Regions from separate parts of the Homo sapiens genome. Here regions 2, 3 and 4 are each linked to region 1. Evidence: promoter capture Hi-C in human tissues and cell types (Jung and others, 2019). All regions are on one chromosome and are shown on one strand. Each heading gives the region's core, a stretch centred on a gene start or on the middle of the fragment in contact. The rest is flanking DNA. Distances are from core to core; before and after follow the strand shown.

The links. Contacts are between HindIII fragments. The study calls those that stand out against the background at their distance.
Region 2: a fragment that was not itself captured here is called in contact with the fragment with the promoter of GALT in region 1 in 1 of the 25 tissues and cell types used here (fat).
Region 3: a contact is called between a fragment that was not itself captured here and the fragment with the promoter of GALT in region 1, in 1 of the 25 tissues and cell types used here (heart left ventricle).
Region 4: a contact is called between a fragment that was not itself captured here and the fragment with the promoter of GALT in region 1, in 1 of the 25 tissues and cell types used here (hippocampus).

The regions. Positions count from the first base shown.
Region 1 is chr9:34,644,383-34,647,924 of GRCh38, reverse strand. GALT (galactose-1-phosphate uridylyltransferase) reads right to left here and starts at 1,250. Exons shown (of 11, transcript NM_000155.4): 1 at 1,139-1,250; 2 at 667-836; 3 at 358-433; 4 at 220-268; 5 at 1-93. The coding sequence starts at 1,220. RefSeq lists enhancers at 646-825, 1,396-1,505, 2,719-3,013 and a silencer at 2,719-3,013. The HindIII fragment of the contact is 1,689 bases long and covers 815-2,503 here.
Region 2 is chr9:34,163,119-34,166,660 of GRCh38, reverse strand. No RefSeq gene overlaps it. Among named protein-coding and RNA genes, the nearest start is that of UBAP1, 14 kb to the left of the region's middle. The HindIII fragment of the contact is 3,163 bases long and covers 95-3,257 here.
Region 3 is chr9:34,284,576-34,288,117 of GRCh38, reverse strand. It overlaps KIF24 (kinesin family member 24), which reads left to right. Exons shown (of 13, transcript NM_194313.4): 6 at 1,414-1,501. Among named protein-coding and RNA genes, the nearest start is that of KIF24, 43 kb to the left of the region's middle. The HindIII fragment of the contact is 3,184 bases long and covers 426-3,542 here.
Region 4 is chr9:34,338,802-34,342,343 of GRCh38, reverse strand. It overlaps NUDT2 (nudix hydrolase 2), which reads right to left. Exons shown (of 5, transcript NM_001161.5): 3 at 3,497-3,542; 4 at 3,178-3,320. The coding sequence starts at 3,304. Among named protein-coding and RNA genes, the nearest start is that of NUDT2, 11 kb to the right of the region's middle. The HindIII fragment of the contact is 7,642 bases long and covers 1-3,542 here.

The sequences.
Region 1 (3,542 bases), core at 1-2,500:
ACTGAGGCCCATGCATCAACAACAGCCCGGATCTCAGGGACCGACATGAGTGGCAGCGTTACATCCGACCAGGGGTGGAAGCACATGACCTTACTGGGTGGTGACGGGAGAAAAGATAACCGAGAGGTAGGGCTTGGCTGTGCTACGGGCAGGGCCGAACCCCAATGCTGAGTCTCCAACTCTGGTTTGAAAGTTGTAAGAGGGGAAATCCATAGTTACCAGACTCCTCGAGCAGACTTTGCTTGGAAAAGGGGATGATCACTGGGTCCTGAGGTAAAGGAGTATCACTCTCTGCAGCAGAAGTCCCTCAAGAGGTCTAGCCACCCTCCTCCCCAGCAGCAGTTGGAGCCAGGTTACCTGGACTGGGGGCATCAGGCTGCAGAGCTGGGAAGTCGTTGTCAAACAGGAAGGTGCTATCGTACTGGGGATTCACCTACCGACAAGGATAGGCTAGAAGCACTCACTGCCCCATACCACCAGTTACCTGGTGGGCTTCAAAGACTGGACAGGCTACAAGGGAGTAGGGAAGGCCCACCCTAGGGGACCAAAAAGCTTGGTGGGATATGACCCAGAAGGAGGTTCACTATCCCTGTGGGTGGAGGACAGTTCTAAGAGGGAACTACTCCCCGTGGCCCAGCCTGCAGATGCAGGGCTCTACAGGCTTACCTCTCCGTTGGCTCGGATGGCCCCAGGACACAGAGGGTTGAGAGGGTCATGGCGGGGCACTGTCTTCAGAAGCTGGGGCTCCACTTGACCCTGCCAGGGCCGCTTCATGCGGTGAGCTGACACCAGCACCCACTCATCCTGCAGCGGGTTGTAGCGGATATGCTGATGGTCTGGGGGCAGACAGTCAAGATCAGTCCTCAGAGCTCTCTAGCTCCCTCTCTCCTGGGTCTCACCCACCAGCAGGCCCAAGCTCGGGAGCGCCCTCTCGGCCCTGTCCCGCTCAGGAGCTAGAGGCCCAGGATTGGACTTTCCCAGCGCCAATTGGCCTGCTGCTCGTACAGGCCTGCAGACTGTACGCCTTGTCGGTCTGGCTCGGGATGAGCGTTCCAACCTTCGGAGGGGACGAAAGCTTCCTAAGGAAGGGGAGGGCTCGGCTCCGCGCCCCAGCGAGTCCCTGCCGCGGTGCAGTTACCGTTTGCCCGGAAGGTTGCTGCTGCGGCGTCCGCCTCTGACGCCTGCTGGCGTTGCTGAGGATCGGTTCCACTGCGCGACATGAGGCCACCGGGGGATCCGCTGGAAAATCTGCAGGGCCGTGCCTCACCTTTCACTTTCTCCGTCCACACCACCCCTCCCCGCGCCGCCCCCGATGATTGGCCAGCCGCCAGCACGTGACTGACTGACTGGGCTGCCCTGCCACCTGGGGGCGGGGCTCAGAACAGCTGTGAACCCTGGGGGCCGACATTGATGATCCTACTTCACCCAGAGCTAGAGCCACTACACTGGAAGAACCTCTGTGAAAGCTGCCTACTGCAGAATCCTTGGGCTCCAGGATGCCTACAGGACTTGCTTGCTGCAATCATTCATTTGATCTTTCATTCAGCAAATATTTACCAAGCATCTAGCATGTGCTAGGCACCTAGGCTGTGTAAAGCATTGGGATGCACATGTCAGGCATGGCCTCTGCCCTGCCTGAGCTTACATTCTAGGGCGAGTAAGGATATGACCCTGGATCAACAGCGCCTCAGTCACCTGCTCAGTGGCTGTAGCGCAGGAGAGGCAAACTTGGTGGGGTCTGTGTGGAGTACTTCACCATAACCATATCCTATCCCCAAAAGCAAAAACAGATTTGGGAAAAAGGGCTAAGTAACCATATTCTCTTTTTCTCTCACTCTTGCTCTCCTTCCTCTCTCTCTCTCTCTCTTTTTCATACACACACCAAGACAGCACAAGAAGTGGGAGGGGTAAAAGGGCTATAAAAAAAAATCTAAAAATGGCCGGGCTCGGTGGCTCACGCCTGTAATCCCAACACTTTGGGAGACCAAGGCAGGCGGATCACAAGGTCAAGAAATTGAGACCATCCTGGCCAACATGGTGAAACCCCGTCTCTAGTAAAAAAAAAAAAAAAAAAAATTAGCTGGTCTTGGTGGCGTGCACCTGTAGTCCCACCTACTCGGGAGGCTGAGGCAGGAGAATCACTTGAACCCAGGAGGCAGAGGTTGCAGTGAGCCGAGATTGTGCCCATGCACTCTAGCCTGGCGACAGAGCAGACTCCGTCACAAAAAAAAAAAAAAAAGTACAAGAAAGTCTAAAAATGTGGAGAGTACAGGACTATCAGAAGCTCCAGCCACCATCTAGGTGGGGCCTAGTGTTTCCTTTACACATCCCCTTCCCTTTTCTAAATTTTCCTTGGATGGGACCAATTGGCTAACACTAGGATAAAATTCAAATTAATTCCTCCCCTGGTACTTTTGTTTGTTTGTTTGTTTGAGAGAGAGTCTCACTCTGCCACCCAGGCTGGAGTGCAGTGGCGTGATCTTGGCTCACTGCAACCTCCACCTCCCAGGTTCAAGCGATTCTCCTGCCTCAGCCTCCAAGTAGCTGGAATTAGAGCTGTGTGCCACCACACTGGGCTAATTTATGTATTTTTAGTAGAGACGGGGTTTCACATGTTGGCCAGGCTGGTCTTGAACTCCTGACTTCAAGTGATCCTCCTGCCTCAGCCTCCCAAACAGCTGGCCCCCAGTACTTTTAAAGAGCCATCTAAATATTGTCTAAACCTCTTCCCCATTTCACATTGGAGCCCAGAGGACTCAAGGTCACCCAGAGAATTAGTGGCCAAGCTGAGATTTGAATGCAAGTTTCCAAGGCTTTTCCCAGTGCTGTGAGATGCCTCTGAGGCTTCAGTGGAATGCAGGACAGAGACCCAGTGAGTTAGAAGTTGAGCCATAGCAGGGACATCCCTTCCCCCAATCAAGACCAAGCCAAGCCAGGTGTTTTGCAATTGAGCTGCAAAAACTAGGTCATGGGTCATTTACTTGATCTCTGCCCTAGGGTCCTCAGACTGGAATAGGAAGAGGCTACCTTCAGAGGTAGGGGGCAGGGAGCTGAGGACTGAGAAACAGGGGTTTTACCTGTCCCACTGGCTGTTCATATTACCCAAAGAGGTGAGACAGGAACAGGAGATCTGCTTTTCCATTCTCTCATTTATATTTGTTTGAGTGACTAGAGCTTGTAGACAGCTCCATTTTCCCAAGAACACCAGTGCTTCAGTGCCGCCCCCTGAATCATGCTAATTAAATCCTGACCCCCATCAGGAACATCTCTTCAGGAACATCTCCATAATTCTCCTCTATGACTCCCCAAGGTCATTTTTTGGAGGAAGAGGAGAATGACTAAGATGGGCCTAACCAGCTCCCTCCCTGCCAGATCCCAGAGGTGTTGTTACAGTAAAGAGATCCCAATCCAGACCCCAAGAGAGGATTCTTGGATCTCACACAAGAAAGAATTCAAGGTGAGTCCATAGTGTGAAGTGAAAGCAAGTTTATCAGGAAAGTGAAGGAATAAAAAAATGGCCACTCCATAGACAGAGCACCCCT
Region 2 (3,542 bases), core at 427-2,926, 480 kb after region 1:
CCACCAGGCCCGGCTAATTTTTTGTATTTTTAGTAGAGGCGGGGTTTCACCATGTTAGCCAGGATGGTCTCGATCTCCTGACCTCGTGATCCACCCACCTCGGCCGCCCAAAGTGCTGGGATTACAGGCATGAGCCACCATGCCCGGCCTAAACATCTTTTCTTGTAAATTATTCAGTGTCAGGTATTTCTTTTTTTTTTTTAAGTTCAGGGGTACATGCGCTGGATATGCAGGTTTGTTACATAGATAAACGTGTGCTGTGGTGGTTTGCTGCACAGATCATCCTATCACCTAGGTATTAAGCCCAGCATCCATTAGCTATTCTTCGTGATGCTCTCCCTCCTCCCTGCCAGGTATTTCTTTAGAGCAGCGCAAGAAGGACCCAACACATTGCCCATTCCTCTTTGTTAAAGCTTAGCATTCCTCCTTGCTTGAAGACAATGTAAAAATACCTGCCTTACAAGACAGGTGCCTGTTTACCTGGGCATGGTGGTGTGCACCTGTAATCCCAGCTACTCAGGAGGCAGAAGCCGGATAATCACTTGAACATGGGAGGTCGAGGCTGTAGTGAGCCGAAATTGCGCCACTGCACTCCAGCCTGGGTGACAGAGCAAGATCCTGTCTCAAAAAAAAAAAAAAAAAAAAAAAGATAGGTGCCTTGCCATCTGGATCTACTTTAAAGTCCCAACCTAATCATTGGACCAATAACTAAAATTAAATAACAACATGAATGACCAGGACATGCCGAAGGAGGAAAGAGACTATAGCTAAAGGAGCTGTAGAACATAACCAATATGTACTGACAAATGGCAGGAGAATATTCATGGGACTGGATTCTGAGGATTCCAATTCTCAACCAAAATAGGGAGAGGTTATCAACTTGGAACACAGGATTTAACACCCTGACAAGGACCCTGAGAAATAGTGCTAACATATTCTTAGGATGGGTCTTATGAGCTTAGAGAAAGTGATGGGCTGTAATAAATAAATAGAAATATCAGACCGGGCAGCTCATACCTCTAATACCAGCTCTTTGGGAAGCTAAGGTGGGTGGATCACTTGAGGAGTTTGAGACCAGCCTGGCCAACATGGTGAAACCCCATCTCTACTAAAAATACAAAAATTAGGCTGGGCGCGGTGGCTCACGCCTGTAATCCCAGCACTTTGGGAGGCCGAGGTGGGTGGATCAAGAGGTCAGGAGATTGAGACTATCCTGGCTGACACGGTGAAACCTCACCTCTACTAAAAATACAGAAAATTAGCCGGGCGCCGTGGCAGGTGCCTGTAGTCCCAGCTACTCGGGAGGCTGAGGCAGGAGAATGGCGTGGACCCGGGAAGCAGAGCTTGCAATGAGCCAAGATCGCGCCACTGCACTCTGTCTGCCTAGGCGACAGAGCGAAACTCTGTCTCAAAAAAAAAAAAAAAAAAACAAACAAATAAAAATACAAAAATTAGACCGAGCGTGGTGGCTTATGCCTCTTATCCCAGCGCTTTGGGAGGCTGAGGTAGGTGGATCACCTGAGGTCAGGAATTTGGGACCAGCCTGGCCAACATGGGGAAACCTCGTCTCTACTAAAAATACAAAAAAAATTATCTGGGCAAGGTGGCGCATACCTGTAATCCCAGCTACTGGGGAGGCTGAGGCAGGAGAATCACCTCAACCCAGGAGGCAGAGCTTGCTGTGAGACGAGATCACGCCATTGCACTCCAGCCTGGGCAACAAGAGTGAGACTCTGTCTCAAGCGAACAAACAACAACAAACAAACAAAAAATTAATGGGGAGTAGTGGCTTGCACCTGTAATCCCAGCTACTTGGGAGGCTGAGGCAGGAGAATTGCTTGAACCCAGGAGGGTGAGGTTGCAGTAAGCCGAGATCACACCACTGCACTGCAGCCTGGGTGACAGAGTGAGACTCTGTCTCAAAAAAAAAAAAAAAAAAAAAAAGAGGCCGGGTACAGTGGCTCATGCCTATAATCCTAGCACTTTCGGAGGCTGAGGCGGGTGGACCACCTGAGGTCAGGAGTTCAAGCCTGGCCAACAAGGTGAAACCCCATCTCTACTAAAAATACAAAAATTAGCCAGGCGTGGTGGCAGGCACTTGTAATCCCAGCTACTCAGGAGGCTAAGGCAGGAGAATCGCTTGAACCTGGGAGGTGGAGGTTGCAGTGAGCCGAGATTGCACCATTGCACTCCAGCCTGGGCAAAAACAGCAAAATTCCATCTCAGAAAAAAAAAAAAAAAAAGAAATATCAGAACTGCTATAGGAGATGGTGCAAGTAGGGATCAAAAGACTAAAAGAAGAGGAAAGTTAGAATGGATATACCGTGTAAAACCAGGAAACTTACCAAATGACTTTTCCACAGAAGAGCTCCAAGGAATTCTCTGATGAAAGTGACATTGGAGGGGCTGGGCACGGTGGCTCACACCTGTAATCTCAGCCCTTTGGGAGGCCAAGGTGGGTGGATCACTTAAGCTCAGGAGTTCAAGACCAGCCTAAGCAATACAGTGAGACCCCATCTCTACTAAAAATACAGAAAAAATAGCCAGGCATGGTGGTACATGCTTGTGGTCTCAACTACTCAGGAAGCTAAGATGGGAGGATCAATTGTGCCTAGGGGTGGACAGAGGTTGCAGCAAGCCGAGATCATGCTACTGCACTCCAGCCTGGGTGACAGAGTGAGCCCCTGTCTCAAAAAAAGAAAAGTGATATTGGTATTACTGAGAAGCTCAGTGGTAGCTGCCCTTGTGGTTTCAGAACAGGGCACCTTGATAGCAATGGGAATAATAGTATCTTAAAATAATAGAGGCCAGAGAGCAGCATGTAACCATCAGAAGCAAATAGTTGCAATTACAATGATCTATGAAGTTGGAACAGCAGCCAGAGGGTCCTGACCTGCAGAGAGCGATGGAGATGGCTAATAGTTCATGATGTTCTTAAAGGTGAGATGGCCAACAAGGATATTACTCAACCTAGACAATTAAAAGGAACCCAGGCTAGATGATCAAGAAGCTGAGTCATGATTCATTGCTCAGCTTCTGGATCACAACCAGTCTTCAGACCTGCAACCCAGTGACTGAAGCAGCTGCCAGGTCTCCAGAAGGAGGACCCCGTGACACTCTAATAAATGTATTTGGCAATGATTCCTCCAGTCCTTCCTCAAAAAGGTCCACTAGTATTTGTTTGGGCCCCCAAACGCAGTGGAAAGAGCAATATTACCCAAGCAATACAAGGACTGTTGGACACAAGGTCTGAAATGAAATTGATACCAGTATGGGACTCAAAGCATCCTCAGGATCCCCCCTTTAGAGTTGGGGCATATGGAGACCCTGTAATAAATGGACTCCTGGCCAGGAGCAGTGGCTCACACCTGTAATCCCAGCACTCTGGGAGGCCGAGACAGATGGATCACCTGAGGTCAGGAGATTGAGACCATCCTGGCCAACACAGTGAAGCCCAGTGCCTACTAAAAATACAAAAATTAGCTAGACGTGGTGGTGCGTGTCTATAGTCCCAGCTACTTGGGAGGCTGAGGCAGGAGAAT
Region 3 (3,542 bases), core at 768-3,267, 360 kb after region 1:
TGGAAAACAAAGCTTAAGGATCTTGAAATTAATTCCTAGAAGTAGAGGATAAATTGTTTTTATACCTTGCATAAAAGCTGAAGTACATTTTAGGCTGTCCATGAGGAATCTTTCTGGGGTGGGCTCAGAGATTAAGGCCTGGGAAATATGTTCAGGAATGACAGCAGGGCTCTAAAAGTTAGATCTTCCTTTTTTTTTTTTTTTTTTAAACAGAGATGGGCTCTTGCTGTGTTACGCGGCTGTAACATAGTGACTATTCACAGGCGCAATCATAGCGTACTACAGCCTCAAACTCCTGAGCTCAAGCAATCCTCCTGCCTCAGCCTTCTGAATAGCTGGGACTACAGACACACACCACTGCATCCAACGGCTAGATTCTTTTACTCTAGAAGGCTGACTGTTTTAATAGATTTGTTTTCAGAGAGATGATGGGCATTGGTGAGGCTGTTTCCCTCCAATCCTTCTGTAGAGATCTGGAAAACTGGGATGAAGCATAGACTGAGAAAAAAATTATTTTTGAGAAAATCATTCTTGTATTTTAAGTTATGAAGTGGAATTCCGTTCTTAACCCTAATCAGTATCTTATTAAGAGGGAAAAATAATCTTAGAGTCTTTGATAGATTCAACATATGCCTCTCAGTGGATCTGGTTTAATGATGATGGTAGACCATAACCATTTATTACCTTGAATGCAGTCCTAAGGCATTCAGATGCAGCCCAGCTCTTCCTTGCTCCTTTATAAGATGTATCAGGTCTCTTTACATTGCAAATAAAAGAAAACCCCATGTGTACTAGCTTAAGCATTTAGGGAAATCATTGGCTCAAATAACTGGAAAGCTTAGAGGACAGTCAGGCTTCAGCATTGGTTTACTCCAGCAGCTCAGGGATGCAATAAGGACCCAGTTTATTTGCATCTCTTCATTCTGTCTTCTGTGTTATTAGTTTCATCCTGAAGCCAACTCTCTTTGTAGATACAAAATGGCTTCCACTGCTCCCAGGGCCACAGGGCCATATGCTTTCACATCCAGGGACAGAGAGAGAGCATCACTTCACCAGGCATCTAACAACCAGAGACCAGGACTTTACTTTGATTGGACCAGCAGAGATCCCATATCCACCTCTGAACAAATCACAGTATAGCCAGGTGTACATCATCCACTGATTAGCATAGTTTAGATATGTGCTCATTCTTTTAATTGTAGCCAGAGTTGTTGATTTATTTTACAACAATCAACAACCACCCCTGAATCGGGCTGAGGTCAGGAGGGTGGGGTTGGGAGGAGGATAAGCATCCATCCCACTCAAACAGAAAACTGCTACTTAATAGAGGAATGGTGGAATGGTTTCTGGGGAGGCAAGAACAAAGTCTGTTTTAGTAGCACCATCATACCAACCACTTTCTTGCATCTGCAGGCTCTTTGCAAGAGAAGATAGCAAGCACATGGTGCAGATAGTGGGACTGCAAGAGCTTCAGGTGGACAGTGTGGAGCTCCTCTTAGAGGTAATTAATTCTTCCTTCTTTATTACCCCACCACAACAGTGTAAGTACAGGGAACAAATTCATTTTGCTACTAAGCAAGTACTGTGGACTTATATTTAGGCAAAGGGCAATGACAAGCCCACCACTTCCCATCTGTAAAATGTGAATTCTTTTCTGAGAGGATAGCTTGTTTCTCTATAGGGTTTCTCCCACGATTAGTGGGAGGTAGGGCATGTGGGAGAACTTAATTCATTGGGAGGATACTACTGGGCCAGTTTCTTTTTGTTGTTGTTGTTGTTGTTTTGAGATGGAGTCTCGCTCTGTCACCCAACCTGGAGTGCAATGGCACAATCTCTGCTCACTGCAACCTCTGCCTCGTGGGTTCAAGCAATTCTCCTGCCTCAGCCTCCTGAGTAGCTGAGATTACAGGCTCCCACCACCACACCTGGCTAATTTTTGTATTTTTAGTAGAGACAGGGTTTCACCATGTTGGCCAGGCTGGTCTTGAACTCCTGACCTCAGGTGATCCACCCGCCTCGACCTCCCAAAGTGCTGGGATTACAGCCGTGAGCCACCGCACCCAGCCTTATTGGGCCAGTTTCAAATGCTGCTAATGTGTTTCTCTATGGCAGTGGGCTCTGGGAAAAGCTGCTGGAGACAAATATTTGCACTTTAAATTCTTTTTACTTTTTTTTTTTTTTTTTTTTAAGCAACAGGGTCTTGCTCTGTTGCCCAGGCTGGAGTATAGAGGTGTAGTCATAGCTCACCGCAGCCTCCCACTTCAGCCTCCCAAGTAGCTGGGGACTGCAGGCACATGCCACCACACCTGGCTAATTTTTTTTTAATTTTTTTTTTTTTTTTTTGAGATGGAGTCTCACTTTGTCACCTAGGCTGGAGTGCAGTGGCGCAATCTCTGCTCATTGCAAGCTCTGCCTCCCGGGTTCATGCCATTCTCCTGTCTCAGCCTCCCAAGTAGCTGGGACTACAGGCACCCGCCACCACGCCCAGCTAATTTTTTGTATTTTTTAGTAGAAACGGGGTTTCACCGTGTTTGCCAGAATGGTCTCGATCTCCTGACCTCATGATCCGCCCACCTTGGCCTCCCAAAGTGCTGGGATTACAGGCGTGAGCCACCACGCCCTGCCAGACCTGGCTAATTTTTAAAAATTTTTTGTAGAGATGGTGTCTTGCTGTGTCGCCTAGGGTGGTCTCGAACTCCTGACCTCAAGCAGTCCTCTCACCTTGGCCTCTTAAAGTGCTAGGATTACAGGCGTGAGCCACCGCACCTGGCCCTTATTTTAAATACAATTTTTAATAAGTAATACTATCACATGAGTTCAGAATTCAAAAGTGAAAATACCCACTTCCATTTCCTTTTCCAGAGCAACTAATTTTATTAGTTTTTTGTGTGTCCTTCCAAAGGAATTTTTCAATCTGCTTCTTTTATTAAGTTATTCTTTTATTGTAATAAAAGTCATACTTATCATTAAGTTTAAACATTACAGAAATATGTAAGAAGATAGTAAAGGCCCCTCTAACTTACTATACATACCCCACTTCCCCTGTTCCCCACTGAGCTATCCACTGTCCACGGTAAAATATTTAATTTTTTTTTCCTGTTCTGGGCATTTATTAACGTAAGTACAAATAGATTTCTGTTGAACCTTCCTTTAATGCAGTGTTCCTCAACCCTGGCTTTACATTAGATTGTTTGGAGCCTTTTTTTCCTTACTTAAAAAATGATTTAACCTTTTTTATTGTGAAAAATAGCACTATACAGAAAAATGCATAAAACCTAAGTATGTACAGTATAAAGAAACAAGCACCCTTGTAATCAGCTACTCAGATCAAGAAATAGAACATTGTAGCACCCTACAAACCCCCTGTGTGACTTTCCAATAACACCCCCCTATTATCCTGACTTTTGTGCTGATCACTTTCTTGTTATTTGTTATAGTTTTACCACCTATGTATTTATCCCCAAACCATCTAAGTTAGTTTTCATCTGTTTTTGAACTTTGCTTGAGTAGAACTACACTGTGTATTTTTTGGTGTTTTGTTT
Region 4 (3,542 bases), core at 440-2,939, 310 kb after region 1:
GTCTGCAGGTGGACCCTGACATTCCAGGGCCAACAGGCTCAAAACCCTGCACGGCTGAATGAGCAGCTGTTTCCATGAAGCTATCAAGGCTTTTTCCAAATTGTTTTCCTCTTTCTTACTGGGCAAAGCCAGATTTCAGTTTCATAGGGAAACTCTTGATGGGAACTTAGACTAAGGGCCAGCTGAGAACCACTTCTAAGAAAATGTGTTAGCAACACCCAAACCCAAGAAGACAGCTGCCAAGAAACTGCTGTAGGAGAACTTGAAGCTCTGCAGACTGGAGCAGCTCTCAGCTTTACCTCTAGTCCCCTCCCACAAATCTTCAGCTTCCCCAGAGGGGGCAAAGACTGGGAACGGTCTGGCAGACTCTGTCTACACCTTGGCTCCAGTAAGTTTCTAGGGAGGCCTCCTGCTCACAGGCTCATGGCGAGCAGGAACTCAGTTGTTCTCTCCTTGGTTTGGAGATGGGGGCCCTCATCCTTCCCAGGGGTCTACAATGCCCAGAGCCAGCTGCTGCACAAAAAACTCCCCAGGGTCCAGGGGCGGTGGCTCATGCCTGTAATCCCAACACTCTGGGAGGCCGAGGCGGGTGGATCATCTGAGGTCAGGAGTTTGAGACCAGCCTGGCCAACATGGTGAAACCCTGTCTCTACTAAAAATACAAAAATGAGCTGGGCGTGGCAGTGGACATCTGTAATCCCAGCTACTCGGGAGGCTGAGGCAGGAGAATCACTTGAGCCCAGGAGGCGGAGGTTGCAGCGAGCCAAGATTGTGCCATTGTACTCCAGTTTGGGCAACAGAGCGAGACTCCGTCTCAAACAAACAAACAAAACCCCCAGAAACTTAGCACTTAAAAACCATTCTAGCTTATAGCTTCTGGGGAATTTTCTCTGCACAAGCACCTCCTATAGTGGTGTACACAAAGACAGACAGGTAATGCATCAGGGGAGCAAGGTGGGAGGGATGCTAGTAGTGATGGGTGATACTGACTCAGGACGTCCTACCTCCCCTCAGAGGTGTATGGAAGTCCCTGAGCACACCCCTCCCAGGGGCATCTATTCAGTATTCTGTCCATCAGTGTTAATTAACAGGGTAGCTTCTGCCGAAGCAGGAAAGGATTAGGAGAGGTCCACTGACATCAGGTAGTGAGAGGAACAAGGCAGTGTGACTCATGTGATCCGGAGACAAGTGTGAATATTCCTATTCATAGTATTTGTGAAGCTTCTGCCTCTTTTTTCACCTTGTTTCTCCCCAGTACAACTCAAACATGCAAAATTTATTTCCTGTTCCCATTTCCTTGTTTTCCTTCAATCCTGGATCTTTGTCCATCCCTTCTAACCCCACTCCCTTTTAAAGTCCCCGCTTCTGGCCAGGCGTGGTGGCTCATGCCTATAATCCCAGCACTTTGGGAGACCAAGTGGGCAGATCACTTGAGCCCAGGAGTTCAAGACCAGCCTGGGCAATATAGTAAGACCCTGTCTCTATAAAATAGTAATAATAATAACAAAATAATTTAAAAAATAAAGTCCCTGCTTCCTTCTGTCTGAGGGCTATTCCTCATTCCAGCAGGCACCTGAGCCACAGTCTGTCCCTCCCAACTCAAACCATCCCAATGGCCTCAGCCAAGAAGGGCTCCTTTTTCCCATTTCTCCCCACACAGCCTGGCTTCTCTTTCAGGACCAAATGACTGCAGCTTTCTTACTCTTAGAGGTGAGGTCAGGAGTGCTGGTGGATGAAAACTGGCCAGCTTACAAACAGATCTTGGCCTGGCCTAAGGCCTCAGGCCAGTAGTCTTCACTGTTCTTCCCACTGGAGACTTGCCCGACTCCACCCTCAGTGCTGAGTGATAGACTCAAGGCACAGGTAGCTAGCTGGTCAAGCTGCAATCTCAAGGTCTCCATAATCTTTACAGTCTAAGAAGGCCCTGCCCATCCCCTCCTGGTCTAAGAAGGCCCTGCCCATCTCCTCACTCCTCCACTCCTGCCACAATCTGCAGATGAATCTATGATCAGGGAGCCCAACTTCTCTATGCTCCAACTCAAAATACAACTATGTTCAGAAACACTGTAGAACTCATACTCTCTGTGTTTAGTTCAAAAGAAAAACCTGGCTGGGTGCGGTGGCTCACGCCTGTAATCCCAGCACTTTGGGAGGCTCAGACGGGCAGATCACCTGAGGTCAGGAGTTTGACACCAGCCTGGCCAACATGGTGAAACCCCGTCTCTACTAAAAATACAAAAAATTAGCCAGGCGTGGTGGTGGGCGCCTGTAATCCCAGCTACTCAGGAGGCTGAAGCAGGAGAATTGCTTGAACCTGGGAGATGGAGGTTGCAGTGAGCTGAGATTGCCCCACTGCTCTCCAGCCTGGGCGACAAAGCGAGACTTTGTCTCAAAAAAAAAAAGAAAAGAAAAACCTAATGATAGGGACACTGAACTAGGAGTCAAAGGAAATTGATCAAATGAAATCAGAGACAGGCTGGAAGAAAACTTAGGATTTTCTTTTTTTTGAGACAGGCTCTGTTGTCCAGGCTGGAGTGCTGTGGCACAATCTCGGCTCACTGCAGCTTTGATCTCTCGAGCTCAAGTTATTCTCTAACCTCAGCCTCCTGAGTAGCTGGGACTACAGGTGTGCACCACCACACCTGGCTAATTTTTGTATTTTTTGTAGAGACATGGTTTTGCCATTTTGCCCAGGCTGGTCTCGAGCTCCTGGGCTCAAGCAATCTGCCCACCTCGACCTCCAAAAGTGCTGGGATTATAGGCGTGTGCCACTGTGCCTGGCTGAAAACAGGATTTTCTAGTCAAGCCCTTGTTTGACAGATGAAAAACTCAAAGCTGAGAGGTGGGCACATAGCTCAGTCAACCTCAAGGTCCCCAATTCCCTGCCCACTGTTTTTTCTCTTACCCAGCCATTCACCACAGAGGTTGGAGAGCTGGCGAATGATACTCATAAAAACACCAGGTGCTGTTTCTACCCTGGAATTCAGTCACAGAATTCTCAGCTCTACTCTGGCCTGGTCTGGAGACCTTGTATGTAGAAAGGGTCAAGAGCTCCTACCTTCCCTACCCCTTTTTGCTACACAGTCACTGGGAATTAAGCCTTGGGGAGGGCCTGGCAGGGTAGATTTCTGAGCAGTGGTTGGCAGTTTCCCAAGAGCTGGCCCCTCTGGCCTCTACCTTTGGGAGGAGTCCAGTGATGAATGCCATCTGATGCCTGCAGCAGTAAAAACTCAATTGCATTGTTGTCCACTTTGGGAATGAGGCATCTTCGGAAGATGATCAAGCCACATGCTCTCAAGGCCATGGTCTTATCCTAAGGACTTAACAAAGAAGATACAGAATATTGGGAAGTTACACAAAATAGGAAGCTCCATACTGGGGGGTAGCAATCTGGTGATGGACAGTAATGCAGACTAGCTAACTGTGATCTCATAGCCCACAGAAAAAGGCAGCATGCCCAGGACCAATGGAAGGCATCCAGGAATCAGAGACTGACCTTTGTGTATAACTGCAGGACCCTGGCAACTACCCTCAGTCAATGT